Regions from separate parts of the Homo sapiens genome. Here regions 2 and 3 are each linked to region 1. The links are contacts of gene promoters, found by promoter capture Hi-C in blood cells and fetal thymus (Javierre and others, 2016). All regions are on one chromosome and are shown on one strand. The core of a region is centred on a gene start or on the middle of the fragment in contact, and the rest is flanking DNA. Distances in the headings are between cores, read along the strand shown. Region 1 holds the start of LINC00449 (long intergenic non-protein coding RNA 449). Region 2 overlaps GGACT (gamma-glutamylamine cyclotransferase). Region 3 overlaps PCCA (propionyl-CoA carboxylase subunit alpha).

Region 1 (2,760 bases), core at 168-2,667:
AGTCGTGCTCAGTCGCCCAGGCTGGAGTGCAGTGGCGCGATCTCGGCTTACCGCAAGCTCCGCCTCCCGGGTTCACGCCATTCTCCTGCCTCAGCCTCCCAAGTAGCTGGGACTACAGGAGCCCGCCACCACGCTCGGCTAATTTTTTTGTATTTTTAGTAGAGACGGGGTTTCACCGTGTTAGCCAGGATGGTCTCGATCTTCTGACCTCGTGATCCGCCCATCTCGGCCTCCCAAAGTGCTGGGATTACAGGCGTGAGCCACCGCGCCGGCCGAAGGTCAAGTTTCAGTGGTGCTAGGAAAAGAAGATAGTGAGCAAAAATGTTAATTTTTGTTTCCTCCTCTTAATATTTGGAGAAAACGTCTGCTTCCTTTTGTTATATTGGAAATCTCCATGACTTCCAAATACAGAATATTTTACAATTTTTCCCTATCCCAAAGTTCAGCGAATATGTTGATTTATTTGAGGGAGAGGACATGAAAGGGAAGCCACCTAGGCACAATTTTCTGCTCAGGCCCTACCAGATTAGTTTTTGTTATCAAAAAAAAAAAAAAAAGTGCCATTCCTTGGGCCAAGCTATGTGCTCAGCACTTTCCCTCCATTTTTGATTTAATCTTCACAACAACCTTAAGATGAACGTTCTTTTCTACTTCCCAGTTCTCTTGATTAACTTGGCTACCCCACTATATGGATCAATTTGCAGGGTCCTAGGTCCCTTTGAAAATCTGATGAAAGTTATAAACCTTACCTGGGAAAAAAGTACAAACACCCGCAAGAACTTGAAATAGGAGTTCACTGGCCCTCAACTTTCTGAGCTTACTATTTCACAAACCTGCCTATTCTTGAATTCTGAGCTGGAGGTCATGATTCTCTCTTATGTACTTTAAGATGATGCACTCTTCCGAAGTTTTTGATTGAACTCTAGTGGCTAACTGAATTGACTTTTTCAGATCACTAAAAAGCTTCTCCTTGAAAAATACTCAGAAGATGCAACACACACACACACACACGTGTGTGCACTTACACACGCGGACACCGTCTCACATCATCAGTGGGAAAAGTGATAGAATCTTGCTAAAGGCTGATCATACCATATTAATCCGATTCGCCAGAACTACTTTCTTCACTGAGCTCTCAGGTATGCTCGGGTCTTCCTTTAAAGAAAATAAATGTCAACGCTACACTCTATCCTACTCCCATTTTCCTCCTCACCCCATTTCCACTCTCCCTTAAAGAGATGTGTGCACACAATCACTGCCCAATGCAAGAATGCACCACTGCATCCAATGCTTGGAAATTGTCCGTGAAGATGCCTTTGAGTAGCTGTCTATTTGAGGATTTGTGGCTAATTCCTCCCCATTTGTTTCCTTAGCCTGCTCCCAACCAGGTGTCTCCAGAACTTTTTCTCTCCGCCACCAACTCCGCCTCCAGACAGACCGCAGGTGCTTTCTGTCATAGGGACTGGCGTGCCGCGGACAGTGTGACAAAGAAACTGTATGATGGATATGAGAACTTCGTAAGACCCAGCAGCAAACGGGGAGCGGCTGGCGAGCGCTCCACAGCCCCCAAGCGTGGGAGCTCTAGATCGGAATTTGTAATTTGGAATTGGAACGTGAGCGCCGGAACAGCTCTCCCAGCAACCACCTCTCCCAGCAACCACCTCAGCTGGCGCGCGGAAAACCCGGAAAGTGGATTTCGCCCCCGCTCCCTCCCGGAAACTCCTCCTGGTGCCTGCGACCGTTCTCACTGAGCATGTGCAGACGGCGGTGCGCATGCTCTGTTGCGGTCCGCTTCGGTTTCTGTTGCGGGACCCGGGGTGTCTCCTAGCGCAACCGGAACTAGCCTTCTGGGGGCCGGCTTCCTTTATCTCTGGCGGCCTTGTAGTCGTCTCCGAGACTCCCCACCCCTCCTTCCCTCTTGACCCCCTAGGTTTGATTGCCCTTTCCCCGAAACAACTATCATGAGCGCGAGGCTGCCGGTGTTGTCTCCACCTCGGTGGCCGCGGCTGTTGCTGCTGTCGCTGCTCCTGCTGGGGGCGGTTCCTGGCCCGCGCCGGAGCGGCGCTTTCTACCTGCCCGGCCTGGCGCCCGTCAACTTCTGCGACGAAGAAAAAAAGAGCGACGAGTGCAAGGTGGGTGAGGCCTGACGAGCCCTCTGATGCACTGTTGGAAGGGGAAGTCGTCCCTATCCGGGGGAGCTGATCCTCGGGTGGGAGCGAGGGAAGGGGGCGTAGCAGCGGGTGGGGTTGAGTTTCCCCAGAAGCTTTTGGGGTCTGCTGGGCTGTGGGTGGGGGGCTCTGAAACAGCCCTTGCAAGGGTAGTTTCTGGAGGACGCAGTGGGCCTCAGACTCGCCTCCCGTCTTGCGGGCCAAGTGGCACGAGCAGCTGTATTCAGTTTTCCTGGAACAGGGACCGTGTGGAGCGCCCTTGGAGTTGGGCTTCACGCCTCAGAGCTTTGGAGTTGGATGTATGCAGGTCCACGCGTGAGTGTTCGCTCACAGCCCTGTAACATGTACGCTGAGGAAGCGGGTGACCGACTCCCTACATGTGAGCAACACTCAGCCTAGTTAACAGTTTCCATTAGCTTTTAACTTCATTGCTTCCTGTTTAATTGCATTTTCCTGGAACCTTCTAGTTGGTTAGGAGAGCTTGTTCTTTCTAGGACTTTGATATCTCGCTTCACAATTAGAAGTTGGTTCCTTATTTGTGGAGTATAACACCCAGAGCCACACAAAGTGCATTAATAAAGAGTTGCTGTAA
Region 2 (2,760 bases), core at 125-2,624, 1.1 Mb after region 1:
TCCTAGCTCTCATTACATTTTCATTTATCTGTGTTAACACGAATTTTTAAAAGAAACCTTAAAATGGGCAAGTCTTTCTAAGCAAAACACAAAACAAAGACACTATAAAGGGGAGATCGATATTTTTAAGTACATAAAATTAAAATTTTTTGCAAAGCCTAGAGACTGTATTACACAAAGTACAAAAAATAGGGTGGAAATAGTTATAGTACGTATGACAAAAGATTAGTATTCTCAATGTATAAATAATTCTTATAAATCAAAAGACAACCCCAGAGAAAAACAGATGAAGAAATGAATATACACTTTCTCTACTATTCTTTCCTTCCCTTTCCCTCCTCCTTTAATTTTTTGAGACAGGGTCTCACTCTGTTGCCCAGGCTGGAGCACAATGGCATAATCAGTGTAATCACAGCTCACTGCAGCCTCAATCTCCTGGGATCAAACAATCCTCCTGCCTCAGCCTCCTAAAGTGCTGGAATTACAGTACAAGCCACCGTACCTGGCTCCCCACCACTACTATTCTTAAATGACAAAGAGACAAGGGCTTCCAACTGGCACTATTTGTCAGCATACTTCTTGTGGTGCTCTAGAATTTGAGCAATGAACACTCTAGAACAGAGGCTAACAGTTCTCACCTGTAAGCTTGTTTCTTCAAGGAAGTGTTGCCTTAGAATCCAGATCCACAGTAAGCCTGAGAGTCTTAAAAACTTTTGACTTCAGAATCCTTCCACATGATTCAAGAAAAAGTTAAGTCCACTTCACAGGGTGACCAGAAAGTCCATGGGGACCAAATATCCAGTTTTCAGTCCTGTTGGGAGGTGAGATAAGAGGAAGTCAACTGAAGAAAGTTAAACATTTAAGCAATAAGGGGCTTACAAACAAACATAAATGACCTAACTACCATTAGAAGGCAATCTCAGACCCTGGGCACATACCCAGGGAAGGAATATACTTATATTCAGTGCAAAAATGCAGTCCACATGCTTGAGGGGCCAAAGAATGCCTTGAATAGAGGAACCTTCCCAGTGACCTAGAGAAAGGGTTCAAAGTTCTCAAGACCTCCTTGACAAAATGTGGTACATATACACAATGAAGTACTATTCAGCCATTAAAAAGGAGATCCTGTCATTTGCAACAATATGGTGCAGCCGGAGGTCGTTATGTGACGTGAAATAACCCAGACACAGAAAGACAAACTTTGCATGTTCTTACTCATTTGTGGGAGCCAAAAATTAAAACAATTGAACTGACTGAGATAGAGATCAGAATGATGGTTACCAGAGGCTAGGAAGGGTAGTAGGGGGGTTGGGGGAAAGCAGAGATGGTTAATGGGTACAAAAACACAGAAAGCAGGAATAAGATCTAGTATTTGATAGCACAACAGGGTGACTATAGTCAGTAATAATGTAACTATACATTTAAAAATAACTAAGAGTATCGTTAGATTGTAACACAAAAGATAAATGCTTGAGGTGATGGATACCCCATTTACCCTGATGTGATTATTACACATTGTATCTCATATACCTTGTAATGAGGGTTTATTATTACACATTGTATCTCATATACACCTATTACTAGGTACCCACAAAAATTAACTATCAAAAAAGAACTATTTGAGAAATAACAGCTCTATATACTCTCCTACAAATAAGAAAAGTAAAAAGAAAAAGAAAAAATGTCTTCTCAGCCATCAGGCAAAGCCAATTTTAGTAATGCTGAGCTCCTATTTTGGTAATGTTGAGCTTCTTTGATTCTTTGATGAGGGTTTCCAAGTCTTTAAAGTCAGATAAATTTAGATTTAAAAAAAGTCAAACCACTTCTGAAGTAGACTTGCCAAAAATGGCAAGCATGAACCTAATTAAGCCTCTAGATCTAACTTCTAGTTTACAGGAAATATAGGGGATAGAGAAGCAAGCCAAACCACACTCCACGAAAAGCAGCCCAACAGATCCAGAGTGTGAGGCACCCTACAGGCAATCAACCAAGTAACATCGACAGTCATTGGTATTGAGGAAACCCGCCAAGGCTGCTCTAGACTTGGGTCGGCAAACCACAGCCTGCGGGTAAGTCCAGCCTGTGGGTGGATTTTAAAACACAAAAGCTTTGGAAATTAAGTATTATTGGAACACAGCCATGCTTATCCATTTACTATCACCCCTGGCTACTTCTGCATGACGATGGCAGAGCTGAGCAGTTGTGGCAGAGACCATAGGGCCTGCAAAGCCTGAAAGAGCTGGTATCTGGCTCTTCACAGAGACATCTGCCACCCCTGCCCTAGATTGAAAGGGGCAACAGCTGAGCACGGTGGCTCACGGCTGTAATCGCAGCACTTTGGGAGGCAGAGGCAGGTGGATCACTTGAGTTCAGGAGCTCCAGACCAGTGTGGCCAACATGGTGAAACCCCGTCTCTACTAAAAATACAAAAATTAGTTGGGTGTGGTGGCATGCGCCTGTAGTCCCAGCTACTTGGGAGGCTGAGGCATGAGAATCACTTGAACCCAGGAGGCGGAGGTTGCAGTGAGCCAAGATTGTGCCACTGCACTCCAGCCTGGGTGACAAGAGTGAGTGAGACTCCGTCTCAGGAAGGAAAAAAAAAAAAAAGACCAGCCTGGGCAATACCTGTCTCCACCAAAAAAAAAAAAAAAAAAAAAAAAAAAAAAAAATAGCTGGGCATTGTGGCACATGCCTGTAATCCCAACTACTCAGGAGGCTGAGGTGGGAGGATGGCTTGAATCCAGGAGTTCGAGGTTACAG
Region 3 (2,760 bases), core at 91-2,590, 1.0 Mb after region 1:
CAATAGCCGGGCGAGGTTCCCCTTTTATGGGTGGGAAGATAATGGAGTCAGTCTCCTTGGTGTATTTTCAAGGAAAATAAGGACCCTAAAACAACTAAGGGCCTTACAAGTATTCTGTTTTTCTTTGAAATGTTACTTTTTATCGTTTAAATTCCAGTAATCTATCATGTTTCTGTTTAGCTTAGCTGAAGTAAAACTTGACCAATCGTAGAATGGTGGGCCTGGCAATAAGTTCTAAAAAAAGTGTCACATAAATCGTAATGAACAAATCTGTTTTGTGAAGTAAACAATTTGAACACAGTTTAAAAACCTCAGGAAGAAGAGATGTGGGGTGGCCGTTGAGAAGTAGTGAATCCGCTCGGGGCGCTTGGTGTGGCAGGGCCTTGTGCACTGATTCATTTGAAACACTCAGCCTGCCCTAAACACAGAAGCTGTGTTTTATTTGAAGGGCTTCTGTAGGGTTCACACAGCAAAAGTTCCTAATAACTTTTTCAGTGTCTGTTATATACTATTTAACATTAAATGTGGCAGGTCACATTTTAAATGATTGTGTAATAGTTTTTCCGAACACGTGGAGAGAGGATGTTAATACACAGTAAAATGCAGGTAAGCAAACAAATCAATAAGAAAGTACAGTGGATTATTAAGGTCCAGAATCAGTAATATAATTTAGGAAACAACTGATAGAATAAATTTTAGTGCCTTTTTATATGCCTTCTGAAAATGTTTCTGCAGTAACTCATTTCAGTTTGAAAACTCGTTTTCTTAGACTCGTAACACTATTGTAAACTGGGAGCACTTCTGTAATCAAAGTTAGCATGACTCAGCTGTTTCAAACTTCTACCTTTATGATACTCTTGAACAGAAATGTTAGAAATATATATATTTTCAGAATAACGGTAGAATACATTTTTCCACATGTCAAATTAGACTTATAGCTGCTGAATTTATTGCATAATTTTCACTTTGACTTTGAAGTCAAATAAAGTCATGATGAGCACATTCGCTTTGTTAGCCTTTTGATATCAGAAACAAAACCACCCCATAAGATAGTCACCCAAGGAGGCATTTTAATATTGCATTTAGTTAAGATTCTTTCAAGTAATGTTCGTATTCTGCAGTCATCACAGATTTGCATCAGAAATACTCATTTAATACACCAAACAAATGAGAAACAAACCATAAGCTGCTATATACTCATCTGCATTTCTTTCTTTCTTAACAATTAGTGAAACCAGGTGAAAGAATAGATTGAAATTAAGTACCTGTTGCTGCTTTTTCTTGCGAATTAGCCCATTCGATATTAGACTTCGGGATATTTTGGTGGGGCTAAGATGAAAAGATCCACCTCGTGATGGAATTGACCTTCAGCAGGGGACAGTGAGGTGTCTGCGGTTGTTCCTCTTGTGAACAACGCCTTAAAGGCGAGAAACAGCCTACTGTACAGTGTGCCAGGGAAAGCATCACATCGGTGGGCGTCGGTGGCAACACCACTTACACTTCACCCTGATTTTGTTTCCTCCTTGCACGTGCTCCTTTGACAGGGCAGGCTCCCAAGCAGGTGTGCAGTCAGGGCCACAAGACACAGGCACCCCATCCCATCTCAGAGTCTGACGTCCCCTCCTCCCCTTTGTCTCTAAGCCTCATGTAACTGAGCTTATAGCCGACCATACAGAACTGGCAAACTTGGTGAGATACCTTTATTTTTTATTTCTTAAACAAGATTTTAAAATTTCATAAGCTCTCACGTATCCTAACGAGAAGGCAGGGCTGGGCCCTCCCGACGGGTGTTTGCCTGGCATCGCGCTTGTGTGCCTCATGCAGCCCAGGCTCGCTCACTGCATCTTTCCCTGGCAGAGGGGCTAGCCTGGCTGCTTCATAGACTTTCCAGTTTCTGGATACCTTGATTTACAATCACAAAATAATTGCAGTAATTAAATTTATATGTTTTATAGCAATAGTTATTCAAGCAGTTTATTTGACAAGATGCCAGTTTTCACCCAAACCTCAGATTGTATCTCACAGCATGTACACAGAGATCCATGCATTTGTTAACATTTTAAGACTTTAAAATTATGAAATACTACAAACATGCAGAAAGTTACAGAGAAGAATCCAACAAGCACTCCTGTGCCCTTTGTTCACCATTTCCATATGTGTTTCAAATTTTATTTAACAATGAGACATTACATATAACATGAACTTCCCCTGTGGCAAGCTCCTCCATCTCATTCCTGTCCTGTCTTCTTCAGAGGTAACGACTACCCCTGGATTTGGCCTTTTAATCTTTTCCAGATAACATTTATTTTTAAATGTTAAGAGTTGGTTTTTGGCCGGGCGCGGTGGCTCACGCCTGTAATCCCAGCACTTTGGGAGGCCGAGGCGGGCGGATCACGAGGTCAGGAGATCGAGACCACGGTGAAACCCCGTCTCTACTAAAAATACAAAAAATTAGCCGGGCGCAGTGGCGGGCGCCTGTAGTCCCAGCTACTCGGGAGGCTGAGGCAGGAGAATGGCGTGAACCCGGAAGGCGGAGCTTGCAGTGAGCGGAGATCGCGCCACAGCACTCCAGCCTGGGCGACAGAGCGAGACTCCGTCTCAAAAAAAAAAAAAAAAAAAAAAAGAGTTGGTTTTTGTTGGAGGTAACAAATATCTATTAGTAGATAAGAGGAGGCAGAAAAAGATGAGGAGGTAAAAAAATATCTATTAGTACTGGGAATTTTTACAGTTGAATATACTCAATGATAATTATAAAATAAA

What was found. Contacts are between HindIII fragments. The CHiCAGO score rates a contact against its expected background, and 5 or more counts as called.
Region 2: a contact is called between a fragment that was not itself captured here and the fragment with the promoter of LINC00449 in region 1, in 4 of 17 cell types (activated CD4 T cells, naive CD4 T cells, fetal thymus and 1 more). The highest score is 6.9, in activated CD4 T cells.
Region 3: a contact is called between a fragment that was not itself captured here and the fragment with the promoter of LINC00449 in region 1, in 1 of 17 cell types (naive CD8 T cells). The highest score is 5.7, in naive CD8 T cells.

Annotation. Positions count from the first base shown.
Region 1 is chr13:99,499,646-99,502,405 of GRCh38, forward strand. It overlaps LINC00449 (long intergenic non-protein coding RNA 449), which reads right to left and starts at 1,418. Exons shown (of 2, transcript NR_133664.1): 1 at 750-1,418; 2 at 78-295. It overlaps TM9SF2 (transmembrane 9 superfamily member 2), which reads left to right and starts at 1,827. Exons shown (of 17, transcript NM_004800.3): 1 at 1,827-2,132. The coding sequence starts at 1,962. RefSeq lists enhancers at 1,533-1,712, 1,619-2,207. The HindIII fragment of the contact is 1,300 bases long and covers 962-2,261 here.
Region 2 is chr13:100,583,187-100,585,946 of GRCh38, forward strand. GGACT (gamma-glutamylamine cyclotransferase) reads right to left here. Exons shown (of 3, transcript NM_001195087.2): 2 at 639-811. Among named protein-coding and RNA genes, the nearest start is that of GGACT, 4.2 kb to the right of the region's middle. The HindIII fragment of the contact is 1,462 bases long and covers 644-2,105 here.
Region 3 is chr13:100,518,035-100,520,794 of GRCh38, forward strand. The region is part of intron 22 of PCCA (propionyl-CoA carboxylase subunit alpha); the gene reads left to right. Among named protein-coding and RNA genes, the nearest start is that of PCCA-AS1, 38 kb to the left of the region's middle. RefSeq lists an enhancer at 1,203-1,868. The HindIII fragment of the contact is 2,940 bases long and covers 1-2,760 here.